Linked DNA regions of Homo sapiens: all the other regions are linked to region 1. Evidence: promoter capture Hi-C in human tissues and cell types (Jung and others, 2019). All regions are on one chromosome and are shown on one strand. The core of a region is centred on a gene start or on the middle of the fragment in contact, and the rest is flanking DNA. Distances in the headings are between cores, read along the strand shown. Region 1 holds the start of ZFAT (zinc finger and AT-hook domain containing). Region 2 has its middle 24 kb from the start of ST3GAL1. Region 3 has its middle 5.8 kb from the start of LINC03024.

The links. The method cuts DNA at HindIII sites, captures the fragments that hold promoters and counts their contacts. A contact is called where the count stands out against the background at its distance.
Region 2: a fragment that was not itself captured here is called in contact with the fragment with the promoter of ZFAT in region 1 in 1 of the 25 tissues and cell types used here (spleen).
Region 3: a fragment that was not itself captured here is called in contact with the fragment with the promoter of ZFAT in region 1 in 1 of the 25 tissues and cell types used here (lymphoblastoid cells).

The regions. Positions count from the first base shown.
Region 1 is chr8:134,711,649-134,714,371 of GRCh38, forward strand. It overlaps ZFAT (zinc finger and AT-hook domain containing), which reads right to left and starts at 1,383. Exons shown (of 16, transcript NM_020863.4): 1 at 1,197-1,383. The coding sequence starts at 1,215. RefSeq lists an enhancer at 1,215-1,394. The HindIII fragment of the contact is 14,984 bases long and covers 1-2,723 here.
Region 2 is chr8:133,594,699-133,597,421 of GRCh38, forward strand. No RefSeq gene overlaps it. Among named protein-coding and RNA genes, the nearest start is that of ST3GAL1, 24 kb to the left of the region's middle. The HindIII fragment of the contact is 9,177 bases long and covers 1-2,723 here.
Region 3 is chr8:133,688,492-133,691,214 of GRCh38, forward strand. No RefSeq gene overlaps it. Among named protein-coding and RNA genes, the nearest start is that of LINC03024, 5.8 kb to the left of the region's middle. The HindIII fragment of the contact is 4,956 bases long and covers 1-2,723 here.

The DNA of each region.
Region 1 (2,723 bases), core at 133-2,632:
AAAGCACGCCTGATATAGTTCGGGTCTCCTGACCCAATATTCGGCTCTGGGCCCACTCTGTCACTCCAGGACACATTCTCCCACATCTAGCACCGCAGCAGGTGGAGGCAGGACTACGACTGGGACTGCTCTTTACCCCTGCCTGGCGTGCAGAGGGGATCCTTGCAAAGCTGTTATTTGAACTAAAGTCAGGAAAGGTGTCCCTGGGGGTTAGAGGTAGGACACGCTACTTCCTTCAGCATGGGGACACACACTACAGATGTTTCAGTAGATGAACTGGTAGGCTCGGAAGATAAAGCTGGTGAGAGGCAGCTGTGCGGGGCATCTCCAAAAGGTCACTTGGACTCCAGCAAAAAAAGCCAGACTGATGGGCAGGCGTGATCAGTTAGCGCGTTCGTTCTTTCATTCACTAAGTATATAGTGAACACTTACATGAGCCAAGCCCTATTCTAAGAAGATGGAGGTACAAGTCAGGCGAGCACGCAGGAGTTTGGATTTTAGCCCAAGTTGGAGGAAGTTAATTTTTAAAGCCCCAGCTCTGTCGTTTTTAAACTGTGTAAAGTTGACCTCTCTGAACTTCTGTTCCTCATAATAAATGACCTACAAATTAGAGTTCTCAAGAGAGCTGAGCAGCAAAACGTGTTAAGTCAGTGCCCAAATGTGGAAGCTTGTGGTAATTACAGGTGAAGGACCCCAAGCTCAAGGTTAAATGACTTGCACCGGGTGTCAAGTGGAAGATCTGTCACTCTATTAGGTCCAGCCGGCGGCCGGGAAGCCTGCAGGAGGTACTCATTTCGCCAAGGAGGAATCCGAGGCCAGGCAAGAAGGAAGCCCCGCCAAGGTCCAGTCAAAGAGCTGGCATCGCCGGGATTCGAACCTCGCGCCCACTGCGTTCCGTCGCTGGCCCGCGCCCCAACGCCACCCATTGCCGTGGAAACGGCCGGGCGCATGCTCTCCCACTCGCTCCCGCCTTGCTTTTTTTTTTTTTTTGCGGCGGGATACCCCAGCGACTGAACGTGAGCCGCAGAACGCAACTACGTTCGCTCTCCTCCCCAGACCCGGATCCCTCCGCGGCCGGCGGCCGGCGGCCGGCGGCCGGCGCACTGCTTCCCGACTCGACGCTCGAAACGGCTTTCCGCGCGCCGCGCCGCGCCCCACCCCCACCCCGTCTCACCCCAACCCCCAGCCCGGCTCACCTGCCGCCCGCGTCTCCATGGCAACGCCCCACCGCGGAGGAAAAAAAAGCCTCGGGCTCTTCCGGGCCCCCTCCCGTGCCGACCGAGGGGGCGGGGCGCCCTGCTGACGCTTCGCTTTTTATTTTTATTTTTTTAAGAAAAGAGCCGGCGAGGTTATGGCGAATCTGCGGCATCCAACATGGCGGATGGAGTCTTCGCCCTCCTCCCCACGGGGCGCAGACGCCTGCGTAGCGGACGTCCGCTTCGGGTGACCCTCCCCCGGCGCCGAGCGCGGCCCGGCAGGGCCGAGCTAACGCGCATGCTCGCAGTCGGAGGCCGTGCTTTTTATCCCACTTCACGGATTCCGCTGCGCCGCGTTTTGAGCCACGCCCAGGGAGGGGCCCTCGGGAGGTCCGGAGCGCGGATCTCGGGGTCAGGAGTCTGGCGGTTGTGCCAGGCCTCTGCTAGCGCGACCCTAGACCCGCGGCATGTGGGGCCGCCGAGCTGGGCGTGCAAGGAGAGTTCTGGGTGCGCTTCGTGTCCCAGCTCTACCTCTCACTACCTAACTTGGGGCAGCGAATTAACTTTTCTTGCTCTCAGTTTACTGATGTGTCCATCGGGGTGCTCCCAACCTGCATCCCGCTCAAAGCTGCGGCGTTTCCCGAAGCGTGGGGTGCTTTCCTTTGGGCCACCCGGCTGGGTTTTAGGGGCTACAGAGCACTGAGCGGCCTACGATCACACGTGACAAGGCGACTTCCTCCTCTCTCGTCTCTTTTTGTCCCACAACAAGTCTGCACTGGATGTGCGCGCCTCCAACACCCGCTCATTCATTTCTCTGCTTGTGGCACAGCCTTCGGCAGGCAGCTGAGTCTGGTGGAAATTTAATGACTTTGTTTTTGGTTTTGATGTTAAGGTGTTTAGCTCCAACACTGTAGTCCTCGGCTCAAATGATATCTTCCAGCCCCTAACCCTCACCCCCCGAAACCCATCTAAAGTAACCCTCCAAGACACTTCATATTTTCTACGTAGCATCCATTCCTATCTGTCATTATCTCCCTCCCTTACCTCTGTCAATGGTCACCCCGTTAGCCTCAGAAACAAACTGAGCCTGACAGTTATTTATTTCATGAGTAATGAGTTGATGTGGTCCATGTTCTAAGGTCATTTTCTGTTCATGACAAATAACGTTTTTCACTTACAGTAGTCATATAAAGTTTTTAAATTGTTCGTTTACATTTTCAAAAATCAGTCAACTTAAAATGGTGTACATGCTGCAAAGACATGCCCCCCCCCCCCCAAAAAAAAAAAGTGTAAAAGCAGACTTCAGGAGACTGAAGTTTGGGAAACTGATTTGTGTTCATGGTTCCCCTGAAATGCTAGTCTTTGCCTGTTCTTCTTTTCCTGGAATAACCCTCTTTGGTTGCTGCTCAACATGAAATTCTCGGACAGCCCTGAAGTTCACACTTCATGTTCCCACAGCTCTGGTCTCACTGGCCTAGCTCCATCCCCCACTTCTCTGTTTGCACAGCGTTCATCCTCACTAGACTG
Region 2 (2,723 bases), core at 163-2,662, 1.1 Mb before region 1:
ATCAGACAGTGTTCTAGGTGCTTTACAGATATTAGCACTTTTTAAATGCACAAAACCCCTATGACATTTAGGGTTATTATTGACACCTTGCTGATGAGGAAACTGAAGGTTAAGTAACTTGCTCAATTACAGGTTTGTAATTATTAAGAGGGATGCAAACCCAGGCAGTTGGTTCCAAATTCCGTGCGTTGAACTGGTTTCCACTCCTGTAATACTCACCATACCTCTTCAATATCCATCGACAGCCAAAGGCTCTCTTTTTCTCTCTCCTTCACCTTTCTTCCCTTCCTCTCTCTCTTTAGCCATCCCAATTAATGAGAGTAGAAATTACTTTGTTTTAGAATCTGTCTCAGCCTGGCTTTCCCAGAAAGCTGAGGCTAATGAAAACCTGACATGCTGCTACTTTACCAGAGAGAATGATCCCAGAGAAGCTGGAGAGAGAGAGAGAAGGAGGTAGGCAGGGAAGGAAGGGGACAAATGAGAGGTCGTGTTACCAAGCTGGCCACATTTGGTGCCAAGTGCACTGAGTGTTCTATCTCCTGGACTGTCTTCCAGGATGCTTAGGGACTACAGCACCTCGGAACAGACTGTGAAGGTGGGAGGAGGGAGGGAGCAGAATGTCTGTACTATTTCCCATCAGCCCTACTTCCCATCAGCCCACGGTTCTCCCCATGGACATTACCTTTCCTGCCCTGTCCAGGGTACTGGTGCACAGCCATGGCTGGGGGATGGGTGTCTCCCACTTCAGCAACCACAGAGAGATGGACCCCTTGAGAAGACTGTCATGGTAGTGGTGGGGGCGGGGGCCTGAGCCCATGCAGAGTTGGGGTGGAACAGCAACAGCTGGGGTGGCCAGGGTAGCGAGACAGGAGAAGCTGTGAGGAGCTGAGGGGACTCCTGGGGGAAGAGGGGGTCTGTTCCACCTGCCCTGTAGAGTGCAGAATCCTCTCGACATTCAGATCTGGCCAGGAGTTTTCAGTCCAGTGTATTCTCCTCATTCCAGTCATATCCTTAGGCTAATTGTCTGTAATTTGAGATGCATCTCTTAATTTCTATCACTTTTCCATTTATTACATGAAACAGTAAAAAGATCCAGTAAGAACATGAATTGGAAAGGGACATGTCCAAGATTACACAACTGGTGGTAGAGCCAAAAGAAAAATCTAGCTGTTCCAGGGACCTGAGATAGTTTTCAAGCAGCATTTCAGAGTAAGAAACTTTTGACTGTCTCCAAGCCCACAGCTGAAGGAGCCCACAGGACAAACCACATGAGCCCATTTGCAAACAGACATTCACTCCCTCACATCCCTCCTGCACATCTGGAAGTACAAGCTCACAGTGAGTCAAGAAAATGACTTTTCTTTGTTCTCTAACATCTGAGCTGTCAAAAAAGGTTTTATACATTTATTTATTTATTTATTTATTTATTTGGACACAGTCTCACTCTGTTGCCCAGGCTGGTGTGCAGTGACACAATCACAGCTCACTGCAGCCTCAACCTCCCTGAAACAATCCTCCCACTTTAGCTTCTTCAATAACTGGGACCACAGGTGTGCACCACCACGCTGATATTTTTTTATAGAGATGGGGTCTCCCTGTGTTGTCCAGGCTGATCTTAAGCTCCTGGTCTCAAGCTATCCTCCTGCCTTGGTCTCCCTACATGCTGGGATTATAAGCATAAGCCACCTCACCTGGCCATGCACTCAATTTATAACCCAATGTCCCTGCTTGAAGATGGGATCAGTGGATAATAAACACACCCCTGCTTTGCCTTACTGTGAAAGAGGTTAACTAATTATTCAATATATTTGGTAATTTTTGATAAAATGTATTATAAGAATAATAGTCGTTTTTTAAGTGCTTCTTAGTTCCCAGAGACCGTGCTGTATATCCATCAGAATGGTTAGCAATTTTTATGCAATTCTTATATTCCAAGCATTTCTCAATGTGGGGCGACATGTATGACCCATGCAACCTTCCAGACAGTCCTGGGAGACAGATTTGGTCGTGAATATCTCTATTTTACAGAGGAGGTAAATGAGGACAGAGAAGTTCAGTAACTTGCCCCACATCACACGACTGGTGGGAGGTGGAACTGTGATTACAGACCAGGCATTTATTCTAGAATTTACCTTCTATACTTCTCCTCATTGCTTTTTAAGGCTCATGAGGATCCAAATTTGGCCCCTGTGCTGCCAAGTTGCAATCTTGCCTGAAGGACAAAGTGCAAACTCTTTGTAGAATATACTACCCAGCCAGCCTCCCCAACCCCACCACCCCGTTTACCCTCTGCTCCCCCTGCCTGTGTCAGGAAAAGTACAATCCAACTCCTGAACCTGCTACATTCTAAGTCCATGACCCTGAACAGTCATTTTCACCTCTCTGAGGCTCCGTCTCCTTATCTGCAGAAGGAGGAAAATCCCTTTCTTTAAGAGGGTCTTTCGAAGAGCGACAGGCATTGTGTGGATAACCCCTAACTCAGTTCCAGGAACACAGAGGCGTTTAGCCAATACCTGTTTTCTTCCCTTTCCTCTTCTGAACTTCTGAACTTGCAGTGAGATTACTTTGTTGTAACGTATCTGCCTTCCAAATGCCCCCAGCCAAAATGCTTCTCTGCACTTTGCACATGCCAGGAGAGTCAGCACACTCTTATATTTATCAGGTCGTGTGTCCGTCCTTTTCTAGGGTTATTTAAGGTGAGGCTTCTGGTTTTACCCCTTTGT
Region 3 (2,723 bases), core at 113-2,612, 1.0 Mb before region 1:
AACACAGTGCCCTCTTATCCTCAAGCAGTACCATGGAATCACAGTTATGAAGTGACTCATCCAGGGTCTAAGGTTCACGCTTCTCTCCTTCTTCCTGCTCAGCTTCCTCAGAGGGGGGCCATGGCAGGATGGTAACCAGAGAAATGGCACCCAGATGTGCAGGGCTTCTTAGGAGGTGCCCCCAGAGCTCACAAAGTACATTCATACACCTGGAATCCTCCCTGGGCAGGTACGCATGGGATAATAACAGCCTTTCACTGGACACTCACCCTGCGCCAGGTAATGAGAAAGTCTTTTATATTCTGTTTTCATGTGCTGAATCTTCCTTCCAGCATTCACAAAACAAGTGGATTTGATCATCCCTATCCCTTAGCTGAGGAAGAGGAGGGTCAGATAGTTTCTGAAACCTTCTCTAAGTCACACAGCAAGTAAGCTGGAATCAAAATGCAAACCAGGTCTACCTGACTCCAGAGATTTCACTCTGGAAAACAAACAATCAAAGAAACAAACTCTGTGAGCAAAAATGTTTCTGGGATTTCACAGGCATCAGTGTAAAACCCCAGATTCAGTCTTGCAAAACCCATTGGCTTTAAAATAGATGGAAGAGAAGTGGCTTAGAGACAGATCATGTGTCCAGTAACTGAGGCTTTATTTGACCACATGATGGTGTGACCCAGATCCTCAAAGCCACACTAAGAGCAGTTGGTGAGTGGGTGGCCACCAAGAGACTAGAAGTGGCATTGGGCTGACCTCGGTCCAGTCCCTACCTATGCATGCAAAGCTTGAGAGGTCTCTGACGTTGGAACAGGCTGTCTGTGAGCAAGTGAGTCCCTGGCACTGGAGGTATGCAAGGATGCATGCTTATCAAGGAAATTGTAAAGGAGACTCCTGCCCTGGATAGGAGGTAGCTGAGCAGGTAAAGTGAAGCCCAGAGAGAGGAAGGAACTGTCCAGAGGGTCCATGGTGCATTGAGGGCAGGACCAGATCTCTGTCTGCAGAGTCTTAGAGGCATCATGAACGTGGAGGAAAGTGACATGCAGGTCACTCTTGGCCTGAGTCACCACTTGAATTAACAGCTTTGCATATTCTACCTAGTGTTTCCTCGCCCAGACCAAGGCCTCAGATTTGTAAAGTGGGGGGTGGACAATTGTTAGGCAGTAGGGGGTTGGAATTCCCTTTTGCAGGCCGGGCTGTGTGAGCCATAAACATTTGTCATAGAAACCCTGGATTTACAGGGACAAAGAGCCCTGAGCACAGGAACAAATGGACTCAAGGCCCATAACTCCTCTCCATCAATCTTTTCTTCTGGATTGTGCAAGACTCTGGCGATTGCATACAGCGGCTCCTGGCAGCCTCGAGTGATGGACAGGGGTAGCGATAAGAGGCACATTTCTGGGAAGAAAGAATGTGCTTGGCCTGGCAGGATGAGGTCGAGGGAGTTGACAGGGAGCCCAGATATAAAACAGACCCTACACACAGAGATATGTGGACAAGGCTCTCCAGTATCCTAGTTGGGATGGGAGGCAAAGATTGGCCAAACTATCTCCAAGAGAGGGCAATTTGGAAGGGGCAGGAGTTGTAGCAATGTTTCTTCTAACTATTTTAAAAATTGTATTTTCAGCTGCCACCTTTTATGGAATCAACAGCAAACTTAATTTCTTTTTGGAAAATGGTTTCGCATTGGGGGATAATGAGTGAAGGTGCTTATCCTCCACATGTAAAGGGCAGGCTCAGACTTGAAATTAGACATTGTAGGGAATCTCCTGCGGCTTTGCATCTTGACAAAATAAGACAAAATCAGAAAGAACGAGAAGAAGACAATCAACCACAGCTGGTTGCATGCATCTTAGAAGCAATCCTCTGCTACCTGAGAGCTCTTAAAGCACTGCAGTGAACAGAAAATGCAGCTCTTATCTGGCTTGAAACATAAATGTATTGGCTCAAATAACTAAAAAGTCCAGACATAGATGTTGACTTGGGGTTTGGTTTTTTCCTTCCATCATCTCTTGGCTGGGCCTCCTGTGACACTTGCTCCACCGCCTGTGACATTGGCTCCATTATCTACACAGGTATTGTGTTCATGGTGGCAAAATGGTTGCAGTAGCTCCTTCGTGCATCCCTCCAGGGTCAGACCTGGTGGAAAAGGGCAAATGCAGGGTTTGCTGGACTGAGGTTAAATTGCCTGCCCTCTGTCTTGAGTCAGCCACTCTTCCCTGAACCCATCACTGAAACCAGGAAGAAGGAATGTACCAATATTTTTAGACAGAGGGCTTATGTTCCAGCCCAGGCATGGGGGTAAAGTCAGCACCACCAGAATCATGTGGATGGAGAATAGTGGGTGGATGGATCCACAAGTGAGAGTTGAGGGGTGCTGGAATCATTAGTGTGAGAGAATGACAACAGGTAGCCAAAAAAATCAACAAAAGTCCATTGTAGCCTGGGCAGGTGGCTCATCTACAATCCCAGCACTTTGGGAGGCTGAAGCAGGAGGATGGCTTGAGACCAGGAGTTCGAGACCAGCCTGGCCAACATGGCAAAACCCTGTCTCTACTAAAAATATAAAAATTAGCCAAGCATGGTGGCACATGCCTGTAATCCTAGCTACTTGGGTGGCTGAGGCACAAGAATCGCTTGAGCCTGGGAGGCGGAGGTTTCAGTGAGCCAAGCTTGCGCCACTGCACTCCAGCCTGGGCGACGGAGTGAAACTCTGTCTCAGAAAAAAA